Linked DNA regions of Homo sapiens: all the other regions are linked to region 1. The links are contacts of gene promoters, found by promoter capture Hi-C in human tissues and cell types (Jung and others, 2019). All regions are on one chromosome and are shown on one strand. Each heading gives the region's core, a stretch centred on a gene start or on the middle of the fragment in contact. The rest is flanking DNA. Distances are from core to core; before and after follow the strand shown.

Region 1 (2,992 bases), core at 439-2,938:
TTGTTATCATTAGTTTTATATGACATATTCTTACTCATACCTCTTTTCGATTAGAGTCAGAGTAAACTTATGCCTGTTAAGTTTAAGACTCAGCATACTAGTCCCCACTTAACTTAGAATAATTTGAGCATGAAATAGGAGAATATGCAAGCAACCATGAGAATTGCTCAAAATTGACTACAGGCATTTTCAAAAACAGTTAATGACCTAATCATTATTTTTTAAAATACTGAGAGTCACAATATTAATCATAATGAACTCCTTTAAGCTCCCTGTAATGGTCATAAGTACTTCTGTAATTCTGTTGCAATTCAACAGTAATCGATGATATCTGCATTAATTTTTAAATTTGACTATTTGTCTATAATTTTAAATGCTAGTATTCTAATGAACATCTACTTCTTTCATCCTTATTTCCACAGTCGTAATTGAGAATCAAAGTAGAAGTATTGACCCTCTAAATGATTTTCTCTTTTAAATTAAGAAACAAATGAATGAAATGTAGGTAAGGCATTGAACATACAACAGTTTAAAAGTTTTTTGCTTCTCACCTGCATTTAAATTACCACATGAAATTGTATTTTTCTTGGGAGAACAGTTCTAAGATTTAAAAGTAATATAATTCTAAAATATTTAGTGGATTCTGGTTCTTTCGCAAATAAATATAGTTGAAACAACTTATTGTTCAGGTCATCAGAGTAATTCTCAGGTTTGTGTATGTGCAAATTGATATTCTCTTCCGTATATCTCCCTACAAAACATGGTAAGGATGTCTGAACATAATTTTTTAATCTATCACAATCCTATACAACCTTTAGAAAAAAGCTCAGCATAATCCAAGATACAGTTTTTCTCAGTCTCACGAACTTTGTAGAACTCCACTTATAGAGCATCCCTACTGAATTTTAACAAGTTATTGCAATGCCAGATGCCCAATTATTTAGTCTCGGAAACTCATTGCTCAAACATAAGGCATACATTCAGTACCTGAGAACGGCATCCTATTTTCCAAACATTTAGTTTCTTTTGTAGAAACATCCTCACTTTATCCTGGCATTTATTGCCTTACAATTTGCAATTTGCGTGTAGGAATTGCTTACTCTTATTTTGGGTGGCATTAGGAGATATACAAATAGGTTATATTTACTCTTGTTTCAACTTTTTGCCATAAAATCCCAGCAGGAAATAAAGTCGTGTTTTGTTTCCTTTATTTAAAAAAGCTTCATCTTACAGTTTTTACATTCTGGCAACATGGCAAGAAAGGATGGCTTTGCAGAACAGAGTGTGTCAAAAATCCTAAGTGGCTGGGAGATGAAGTGCACAATCACAGAACGCAGTCACTGGCAAAGGAATGTCAGCCACTTACCAATAAGATGCCAGACTCCACTGTCCTTCCTCTGTGACTCTCAATTCCTGTCTCCCATCCTCCTGCCCATCAGCACAGTTCAGAGAGAGCGGTTCCTCGGGTCCTTTGCAGCCTGTGGCAGAGGCGAATTGCGGAGTTCTTAATCATTCAGAGGGAATCCTCCAGCTTGCCCTGCCTCTCGCAGCAGACGGGACCCAGGTAACGCATCCTCTCCGCCCCGAGCTTTAATGGCACTTTGGCTGCCGCCTTCTCGCAGTTCCGCTCCCCCACGCCGTAGTTGGTTATATTGGGAAGTAGGTGCGGCGCCTCCTGCGGCTGGTGTGTTTGGGGCTCGCGTGTTTTCCTCCAATGCGTCCGCGCGCCCTGCGCCCCGCGCCTCTGACTGGCTGTGTCCTCCCGGGGCGGCCCCTCGCCCCTCCCCGGCCGCCCGCGCTGTCACCGGCGCCCGCGTCCAGCGCCTCACTGCCTCTTGCTGCAAAGGTTCATTGAGCATGTCCCTGGGCTTAACGAACTGTGCGCCTCCCGGAGGGTGCTCTGTGTTTCTCCACTCGTCTCACTAGTCAACCGGCATTTTCCTTCCCTGCTAAGTACAGAGGACCTGCCCCCCTTCCCCGAGCGTTTCTGCTCTGCAACCCCTCCGTATTTAACATTCATAGATTACAAAGCAAACGTGCTGGCTGGAGTCGGCACGGGAGATCCAGGCGAGAGTCCCTTCCTCCGCTCCTGTCTTCACTCTGATTCCTGTAGTCCCCGGCTCACACCTCTGACAGCAGCAGCACAGACTGACGCGTTCACTTAGGTCGGTTTGAGAGTGGACTTTTTCACTTTGCAGAATTTTCTTAAGTCCTGAATGGGAAGCACTTCTCTTTTGTTTCTGCACTTACGCGTTTCATCTAAGGACTATCAGGCTCTGCCTGTTTATATTTCTCTTTGATTTGGGGTGTTGACTCAGTTCTAAAAAAAAGCGAAGGAATGGTCTCAGCAACCTTTTTTTCGGAATTTTTATATTACAATGGCTGTAATTGGAAAAATAACACAGGTAGTAAATCCACAGTGTGGCAGCTTTAGTGCCATTGTTCTGCCAGTCCTCCTCTCTACTTTTTTTTTTTTTTTCCTCTCAGTCTTTGAGTCGTTTTCCAATTCCCACGATTGGGCTGATGGTAATTGGGTATTTGTTAAATAAATTATATAACATTTCCTTTGCAATATATTTCCATAGAGAATGTGGTTTGCACCTGTATTTAATGGAAAGGAAATCCCACGTACTGCTTTCTATCTCTGTGTCTGTATAAGAAACTGCATGGGAGTCTAGGGTCGCACCCCGTGTCCGCTGGTGTCCGTTTTTCATGTGTGTTTGAGAGCAGCCTGACCCTGGACTGACGCTGATTCTTCTGCTCACTGAATCCCCCGATGGGGTCTGACTGGCTCTAATTGGCAAGGAGAGTACAGTGCCAGGCAGCCTGTAGCTGGAAGCCGTCTACCACTAGCCCTGTGTTCTTTCTCTTGCAGTTTTTCTGGTAATTAAAATTAGTCTTTTCCTGTTTCTTGGCTGCTTCTCATTCATCCAATGATGTACAAACACCCAGTCTCTGCTTTTAATCGCTATCCTCAGGATCTAGGCTGATT
Region 2 (3,253 bases), core at 46-2,545, 670 kb before region 1:
TCTATCCACCCTTGAAGACCCCATGTTTCACGGTCCACTGGGCCTGTGTGCCCTCTGCTTGTCATGCCTCATTTCATAACCTTTACCTCATCAGCTTCTCATCCTTCAACCCCTCAATTCAAATACCTCCTCCTTTAAAACCCTTACAATCATCACAGGTTGTAACTTCTTTTGTACTATGTATCATAATTTCACATTTATTTCTATAATTGTTTGTTTTAAAAACAAACTCTAAGCTCCATACAGAAAGGAATTTTTTAATTGGAATAATTTAGCTATAATTCCATTGTAGTAATATTATTTAAAGACTATTATTTCCTCTCTGATGCCAAAAATGAGCCTTAAATATATTTGTATTTTCTGTGCTGTGCACACAGGTACTGAAAACACACATGTACTCAGTTTTTAATGTTTTTCTTTGAAGACTACATTACTTTCAAAAATAGCTAGAAGTACATATTTACATCTTATTGCAGAAATGTTTCAACTGCTTGCTTATGTAATTTTTACAGCTTGAAAATTTTTTCTTCAAATTTTTATATGTACTTCCTGTTTTAGATTAACCTATTTAAATATTGCTTTCATTCTTCCACGCCCAATCACCAACTCTGTGAAGCTGTCTTGATTCCACAATCAGGATTTATTGGCTGTAACCCTTTCTCCCAGCTATTATAATTACAAACTTAAGTGTCCCACAAATGTGTACTATTCTAATGATATCAATAAATTTTTTGGAATAAAAATGAGTTTAGGGTATACTATAGTCAATCAAAATTGGTGTCATATCAGATTAAAGGATTCTCCTTTACTATAGGAACACTTAAAATACGCATTTGTTTTGTGAATTATGAAAAAAATGTTTTGCAAAATTATTTGACTATAAAAACATTTCACTGATGGAATAAAAGAAAAAATATTGAGGGATGCCAGAGAGAAAGAGGTCAGGTCATGAAAAAAGGGAAGCCCAACAGATTAACAGTGGACCTCTCAGTGGAAACCTTACAAACCAGAAGAGATTGAGGGCAAATATTCAATATTATTAAAGAAAAGAAATTTCAACCCTGAATATCATATCTTGCAAAACCAAGCTTTGTAAGTGAAGGAGAAATAAAGTCCTTTTTCACAAATGCTGCGGGAAACTGTCACCACCAGACCGGTGTTACAAGTGCTCCTAAGGAAGCACTAAACACGGAAAAGAAAAACCATTACCAGCCACTACAAAAACACACTGAAATACATAGAACAGTGACACTATGAAGCAACTACATAAACAAGTCTGTAAACTAGCCAGCTAGCATCATGATGACAGAATCAAATCCACACATAACAATAACCTTGAATGTAAATGGGCTAAATGCCCCAATTAAAAGACACAGAGTGGCACGTTGGATAAAGAACCACGAACCATTCATATGCTGTCTTCAAGAGACCTATCTCACATGCAAAGACACACATAGGCCGAAAATAAAGAGAAAGAGGAAAATTTACCAAGCAAATGGAAAACCTAAAAAAGCAGGGGTTGCAATTCTAGTTTCTGACAATACAGACACTAAACCAAGAAAGATCAGAAAAGACAAAGAAGGGCATTACAAATGGTAAAGGGTTCAATTCAACAAGAACTAACTATCCTAAATATATATGCACCCAATACAGGAGCACCCAGATTCATAAAGCAAATTATTAGAGACCTTCAAAGAGACTTAGACTCCCACACAATAATAGTGGGAGACTAACACACCACTGCCAATATCAGACAGATCATCGAGACAGAAAATTTACAAAACTATTCAGGACCTGAACTCAGCTCTGGATCAAGTGGATCCGACAGATATCTACAAACTCTGCACCCAAGAACAGAATATACATTCTTCTCATCACCACATGGCACTTACTAAAAAAACTGTTCACATATTCAGAAGTAAAAGACTCCTCAGAAAATGCAAAAGAACTGAAATCATAACAAACAGTTGCTTAGACCACAGTGCAATCAAATTAGAACTCAAGATTAAGAAATTCACTCAAAATTATACAACTACATGAAAATCAAACAACCTGCTCCTGAATGACTTTTGGGTAAATAACAATATTAAGGCACAAATCAGGAAGTTATTTGAAAATAATAAAAAACAAAGATACAATGCATCAGAAACTCTGGGACACAGCTACCACAGTGTTAAGAGGGAAATTTACTGCAATAAAAGCCCACATTAAAAAGCTAGAAAGATCTCAAGTTAACAACCTAACATCACAACTAAACAAACTAGAGAACCAAGAGCAAAGAAACCCCAAAGCTAGCAGAAGACAAGAAATAAAGATCAGAGCTGAGTTAAAGAAGACAGAGACATAAACACTCTTCAAAAAAACCAACAAATCCAGGTGCTGGTTTTTTTTTTGAAAAAATTAAGATAGACTGCAAGCTAGACTAATAAAGAAGAAGAGAAGATTCATATAAACACAATCAGAAACAATAATGGCCATATTACTACTGACCTCACAGAAATACCAAAAGTCATCAGAGACTATTATAAACACTTTTATGTAAGTAACAAGAAAATCTAGAAGAAAAGAATAAATTACTAGATACATACACCCTCCCAAGACTGGACAAGAAAGAAACTAAATCCCTGAGTAGACCAAAATGAGTTCTGAAATTAAGGTGGTAATAAATTGCCTACCAACCAAAAAAATCCCAAGACCAGACAGGCTGAGAGCTGAATTGTACCAGATGTACAAAAAAGAGTTGTTATCATTTCTACTGAAACTATTCCAAAAAAATTGAGAAGGAAGGAATCCTCCCTAACTCGTTCTATGAGGCCATCATCATCCTAATATCCAAACCTGGCAGAGACATAAAAGAATAAAATACCTATGAATACAGCTAACGAGGGATGTGAAGGACCTCTTCAAGGAGAACTACAAATGACTGCTTGCTCAGAGAAATTAGAGATGACACAAACAAGTAGAAAAACATTCCATGATCATAGATAGGAAGAATCAGTTTTTTTAAAATGGCCGAACTGACTAAAGCAATTTAGAGATTAAATGCTATTCTCATTAAACTGCCATGGACATTCTTCACAGAATTAGAAAAAGAGAAAACTATCTTAAAAATTATAAGGAACCAAGAAAGAGCCCGAATAGCCAGATAGCCATGGCAATCCTAAGCAAACAAAGAAACAAAACAAGAACAACAACAACAAAACAAAGCTGGAGGCATCATGTTACCCAACTTCAAACTATACTATAAGACTAC
Region 3 (3,296 bases), core at 17-2,516, 650 kb before region 1:
GTGTAGTCAAACATGTCATATACATATTTTAATAACCTAGCAACACCCTTGCATGTTAGGGGAAAGCTTTAAGCAGTGTGATTAGCATACAAGAAGATCCGAGGGCCTTAAGATTTTATATACTGCAGAATTCCTTAATTTATCACACTTTTATTTCAGTAATAAATTTTCCTTTGTAATGATTTGTGTTTCATACTTTGTTGTATAGATTTATTTTTCCACAGTGGCAAGTTAAAGAACTTACTAATTTTTTTTTAATTATACTTTAAGTTCTAGGGTATATGGGCACAACGTGCAGGTTTGTTACATATGTTTTTCTTAAGTTCTTTTTTCTTAACGACTACCAAATTATGAAACGAAAATCCATTGTTTCTGCAAAGTAATGCAGATTCAAAGTCTGCAGTATATAAAATTTTATAGGCAGAAGCCCTTGAAATTTTATTGCAGCAGGCTTTTCACATGTGCCAGAACACCATGCAGTGACTGCAGAGGCCTGGTGAGGGGCCTATGAGAAAGAAATGTATTTCTTGGAAAAATCCCATAATGTGACAAAAAGCATGTAGTCTATTTATTTCTGTGTTAGTTTTAGCTTTTTATCACCAGGTGGCTTCTGAATTTTTACCTTCTCTATTGCTCCACTGTGATACTTAATGTTTTCGTTTTTATGTTGTAGTCTATGGTATTGATGTAATTAACAATAACTAGCCAATTAATTCAACAATCATATATTAAATCTTTAAGATATTCTGAGCACCAGTGGTGCAGGGCTGAGTAAAACAGAGTAATAAGAACTCATGGTCTAGCATGAAAATTATGTAATAAAATCAATAATTATAAATCACAATATGAATAGCAAGTAATAATTAACTATTTATTACATGTTGGACACTTCATAGTTTTACATATTATCCCATTCGAAAATTACAACATCGCTGGAAGGCAGAAATGAGACAAGAGTGGCATCTACAAACACTCTCAGAGTTCTGAGATGATGGTAGTGAAAATCATAATATCTATAGAGAATTTTGTATTTTTCAAAGTATTTTCTCACATATTATCTAATATTACACAGCTCTAGAGAGTAACAAGTCAGATACAATTGTTTCCTTTTTGCAAGGAAATGAAATGATATACTAAGGTAACACAACTACTTGTTGACAGAGTCACAATTTAGTACCCATATAACAACTGCAGGGGCTATGTGCCTTCTCTCGTTTTCCTCCCATTAATATAAAACACTTGAATTTTAAAGAATTTCCATTTAGATTTATCTGTTTCTATTTTAATTTTTTATTTGAGACAGAGTTTTGCTCTGTCGACAGGCTGGAGGGCAGTGGGGCACAATCTCAGCTCACTGCAACCTCCACCTCCCAGGTTAAAGCAACTCTCCTACCTCAGCCTCCCAAGTGGCTGGGATTACAGGTGCCCACCACCATGCCCAGCTAATATCTTTTATATTTTAGCAGAAACAGGGTTTCACCATGTTGCCCAGGCTGGTCTCGAACTGCCGAGCTCAGGCAATCTGCCCTCCTCGGCCTCCCAAAGTGCTAGGATTACAGGTGTGAGCCACCGCACCCAGCCTGCATTTTTTTACTCTTTTACCAAAATCTATCTATAACCTTAGGATAACACTGGGCCCCTCCCACAGATGACTTCTTTAGTGCTGGGATTTAAAAATTCTCAGAAATCTACAAAAATCCATTCCCTCACCCAGTACTGATGGGCGAGATTTCAACTTGGAGTTATGGGTTTACTCTCTATTAAAGTGACTATCCTACTAGATTGTACTCATTTAGCACTAGTTAGTCAATAATTATTCAGAGAAATTTAGGACATGAAGCAATGTTTACTCCAACAATTAGTTAGTAGGATGAACAATAGAGTGATTTGCTCTGAGCAAAGGACACTGAAGAGGCATCCCTAGTGTCAGCCTGAAACAAAACAAAACAAAACAAAACAAAACAAAACCAGAAAAATGCCTCCTAATATAATGAATTTATTTGGGAATAATCAAGAAGGATCATAATCCAGTATGCACATCCATGGCAAGCCACAGATCTACCCAAAGATGGAAGGGTAAGAGAAAGCTCAGAGCAAGGGCAAAAAGGGGAAGTTTATATAAGCTTCTTGGAAACAGAATTCATTGGTTTCAGAGGTTCAAAGCTAAGGTTGCTGTCAATTCACTGGAGAAGATGGTGTTATTAGGCAAGTGTTCTTTAGAAAGCATCTTATCTGAATTGCTGCAGTCCTAAAGAAGGGATTTTTTGTGGGGTTATTTTAGAAAAGCCTCGAGACAATCCTTGTCTCAGACATGTAAGCATGAGTTCCTCTACTTTGTGCTTTTTCAGCTGCAATTCGTTTGGGTCTGACAAGAGTGATTGCATCCTGGTATTTGCAGCTTTCACAAAGGCAACCAGAGGTTCTGTGTGAAGAGTTAGTAGATCTTGGGAGCAGGGCAAACATGGGGAGTGACAAGCAACCAACAAAATAAAAAACAAACAGAAGAAATGCCCACATAGATCTAACTAAAGCAAAGAGCTTCTTCAAAGCAAAAGAAACTATCAACAGAGTGAACAGGCAACCTACATAACGGGAGAAAAATTTTGCAAACTTCTCATCTGACAAAGGTCTAAAATCGAGCATCTATAAGGAACCTAAACATGTTTACAAGAAAAAAAAACCATCAAAAGGTGGGCCAAGGGCTTAAACAATTGCTTCTCAAAAGAAGGCATATATGCAGCCAGCAATCACAGGAAAAAAATGCTCAATATCACTGATGATTAGAGAAATGCAAATCAAAACCACAATGAGATGCCATCTCACATCAGTTAGAATGGCTATGCTTAAGAAGTCAAAAAATAACAGATGCTGACAAAGTTGTGGAGAAAAAGGAATGCTTGTACACTGTTGGTGTGAGTGTAAATTAGTTCAACCATTGTGGAAAACAGTGTGGGGATTCCTCAAAGACCTAAAGACAGAAATACCATTTGACCCAGCAAGCCCATTATTGGATATATACCCAAAGGAATATAAATTGTTCTATTATAATATAAAAACACATGATTGCATATGTCCATTGCAGCACTATTCACAATAGCAAAGACAGGGAATCAACCTAAATGCTCATCAATGATAGACTGACTTTTTCAAAATGTGATGCATATACAACATGGAATGCTATGCAGCTATGAAAAAGGATGAGATCTTTTTTTTTTTTCTGCAGGGACACAGGTGGAGCTGGAAGCCTTTATCCTTAGCAAACTACCACAGGAAGAGAAAACCAAATATGGCATGTT
Region 4 (3,192 bases), core at 439-2,938, 940 kb after region 1:
AGAGTAGGAGGAAGAAAGAGAGGGTGAAACTGCCACATACTTTTAAACAACCAGACCTCAGCACTAGGGCAATGGTGCTAAACCATTAGAAACCACCCCCATTAGAAATCACCTCCCACCAGGCCCCACCTCCAGCTTTCAGGATCACATTTCAACATGAAATTTGGAAAGGGGCACAAATCCAAATCATATTATTCTGCTCCTGGCCCCTCCCAAATCCCACGTCCTTTACACCTTGCAATATAAAATCCTGCCTTCCAAACAGTCCCTGAAAGTCTTAACTCAGTCTAGCATTAACTCAAAAGTCCACAATCCAAAGTCTCATCTAAGACAAGGCAAGCTTCTTCTACCTCTGAGCCTGTAAAATAAAAAACAAGTTAGTTACTTCCAAGATACAATGGGGGTACAGGCACTGGGTAAATACTCCCATTCCAAAATGAAGCAGTCAGCCACAAAAAGGGGGGCTACATGACTCATGCAAGTCCAAAACCCAGCAGAGCAGTCATGCAATCTTAAAGCTCGAAAATAATCTTATTTGATTCCATATCTCACAACTAGAGCACACTGATGCAAAGGGTTGGCTCCCAAGGCCTTGGGCAGCTGTGCCTTTATGGCTTCTCTCAAGGGCTGGCATTGAGTGCTTACAGCTTTTCCAAGTACACAGTGCAAGCGTGTTGGTGGACTTACAATTCCAGGGTGTGGAGGATGGTGGCCCTCTTCTCACACCTCCATCACGCAGTGCTCCAGTTGGGACTCTGTGTGGGGATTCCAACCCCACATTTCCCCTCCACACTTCCCTAGTTGAGGTTCTCCATGAGGGCTCTGTGCTGTATCAGGCTTCTGCCTGAACATCCAAGCTTTTCCATACATCCTCTGAAATCTAGGTGGAGGCTCCCTAACCTCAACTCTTACACTCTGTGTACCCACAAACTTAACACCATGTGGAAGCCACCAAGGCTTACAGCTTGTACCCTCTGAAGCAGTGGCCCAAGCAGTACACGGGTCCCTTTGAACCATGGCTAGAACTGGAGTGATTGGGATGTGAGAATCAGCATACCAAGGCTGCACAGGGCTGTGGGGTCATCGTCCTGGCCCCCAAAACCATTCTTTCCTCCTATGTCTCCAGGCCTGTGATGGGAAGGGCTGCCTCAGAAGTCTCTGAAATGCCCTCCAGGCCTCTTCCTTATTGTCTTGCCTATCAGCACTTGCTTTCCTTTTAGTTATGCAAATTTCTGCAGCTGACTTGAATTGCTCCTGGAAAATGGGCTTTTATTTTCTATCACAGTGTTGGACTGCAAATTTTTCAAACTTTTACTCTCTGCTTTCCTTTTAAATATAAGTTCCAGTTTCAGGTCATTTCTTTGCTAATGCATATAAGATAAGCTTTTAGAAGCAGTTGGTCCACATACTGAATGCTGTGCTGCTTAGATATTTCTTCCATCAGATGCCCTAATTCATCACTCTCAAGTTTAAAGTTCCATAGGTCCCTAGAGTAGAGGCACAATGCTGCCAACCTCTTTGCTAACACATAACAAAAGTGACCTTCACTCCAGTTCCCAACAAATTCTTCATCTCCATCAGAGACGTCCTCAGGCTGAACTTCACTGTCAAAAACACTACCAGCATTTTGGTCACAACAATTTAACAGATCTCAAGGAAGTTCCAAACTTTCTCTCATTTTCCTGTCTTCTTCTGAGCCCTCCATACTCTTCAAACTTCTGCTCATTACCCAGTTCCAAAGTTGCTTCCATATTTTCAAGTATCTTTATAGGAATGCTCTACTTCTTGGTACCAATTTTCTGTATTAGTCAGTTCTTGCATTGCTATAAAGAACTACCTAAGACTGGGTAATTTATAAGGAAAAGAGGTTTAATTGGCTCACAGTTCCGCAGACTCTACAGAAAGCATGGCAGCATGTGCTTGGCTTTGGGAGAGGCCTTAGGAAACTTACAATCTTGGAAAAAGTTGAAAGAGAGGCAGGCACATCTTACATGGCCAGAGCAGGAGGAAGGAGCAGGGAGAGGTGCCACACATTTTTAAACAACCAGATCTCACAAGAACTCCAACACAAGAACAGTACTAGGGGGATGGTGTTAAACTATTAGAAACTTTCCCATGATTCAATCACCTCCCACCAGGCCTCACCTCCAGCACTGGGGATTACATTTCAGCAGGAGATTTGGGTGGGGACACAGATCCAAACCATATCAGATACTAAACTATTTTAAAATAATATCATTTGATTTTAAAATGTGTTTCTATTTTATGGGTCTAGAAAGCCACAGGAAAAAAAGGAATGTGAAACTCAAGAGATATTAGTATGACATATCATAAAGCATATCTGGAAATGAAACAGGATCTTCTTGAATGGGCTAATGGACCATACAGTGCAGCTTCATGTCTCTGGCACTGTCCAGTGTGAAAAAGAACAAGGCAATATAAAAAGTAAAGCAATTTTTAAAATAAAAACTATATCAAGGTTTTTGTTGTCATTTTTTTTTTGTAGCATGATTGTACTTAGTACTTAGCCAATTGATCTAGATTGGTGAAGGCACTATATAAATAGCAATCACTTTTGTAAATTACTGATACCTTATAGTCCACTTTTAGTTCTCACAATGATCCTATAATTTTGGTGTTTTTAACTCAAATTTGCAAACTAGAAACAGAAGCTGAAAGTAATTAAGCAACTAATTTAGTCTTTTATTTTTATTTTTTTACTTTTCATTTTTTTGAAACAGGGGCTTTCTCTCCCTGTCACTCAGGCTGGAGTGCAGGAGTACAATAATGGCTCTGAAGCCCTGGTCTCATGGTCTCAAGGTCTCTTCCTATCTCAGCCTCCCAAGTGGCTGGGACTATGGGCACACACCACCATGCTTGGCTTATTTTTTAATTTTTTTGTAGAGACAGAGTCTCACTATGGTTTTCCCAGACTGGTCTCAAATTGCTGGGCTCCAGCCATCCTCCCATCTTTCCCTAGCAAAGTGCTGGGATTGCAGGCATAAGCCACTGAGCCCAGCCCTAAACCAGTCTTTTAAATGCATGAATAACTATTCATATTATATCATGTCTGATTTTTAAACTAATTATTTATAGTAACACAGATACTTCTAAATATTATAGTCAATTCTATAAATTAAAATAGTATTCTCTTTACAGATTGTAAGCACTCATAGCTTTTATACATTTATT

Evidence for each region. The method cuts DNA at HindIII sites, captures the fragments that hold promoters and counts their contacts. A contact is called where the count stands out against the background at its distance.
Region 2: a fragment that was not itself captured here is called in contact with the fragment with the promoter of CNTN5 in region 1 in 1 of the 25 tissues and cell types used here (mesendoderm cells).
Region 3: a contact is called between a fragment that was not itself captured here and the fragment with the promoter of CNTN5 in region 1, in 1 of the 25 tissues and cell types used here (H1 embryonic stem cells).
Region 4: a fragment that was not itself captured here is called in contact with the fragment with the promoter of CNTN5 in region 1 in 1 of the 25 tissues and cell types used here (hippocampus).

What each region holds. Positions count from the first base shown.
Region 1 is chr11:99,019,645-99,022,636 of GRCh38, reverse strand. CNTN5 (contactin 5) reads right to left here and starts at 1,688. Exons shown (of 25, transcript NM_014361.4): 1 at 1,367-1,688. The HindIII fragment of the contact is 4,883 bases long and covers 1-2,992 here.
Region 2 is chr11:99,690,328-99,693,580 of GRCh38, reverse strand. All of the region lies in intron 3 of CNTN5 (contactin 5), which reads right to left. Among named protein-coding and RNA genes, the nearest start is that of CNTN5, 670 kb to the right of the region's middle. The HindIII fragment of the contact is 5,448 bases long and covers 1-3,253 here.
Region 3 is chr11:99,673,686-99,676,981 of GRCh38, reverse strand. All of the region lies in intron 3 of CNTN5 (contactin 5), which reads right to left. Among named protein-coding and RNA genes, the nearest start is that of CNTN5, 650 kb to the right of the region's middle. The HindIII fragment of the contact is 3,356 bases long and covers 1-2,944 here.
Region 4 is chr11:98,078,848-98,082,039 of GRCh38, reverse strand. No RefSeq gene overlaps it. Among named protein-coding and RNA genes, the nearest start is that of LINC02713, 120 kb to the right of the region's middle. RefSeq lists an enhancer at 929-1,498. The HindIII fragment of the contact is 3,488 bases long and covers 1-3,192 here.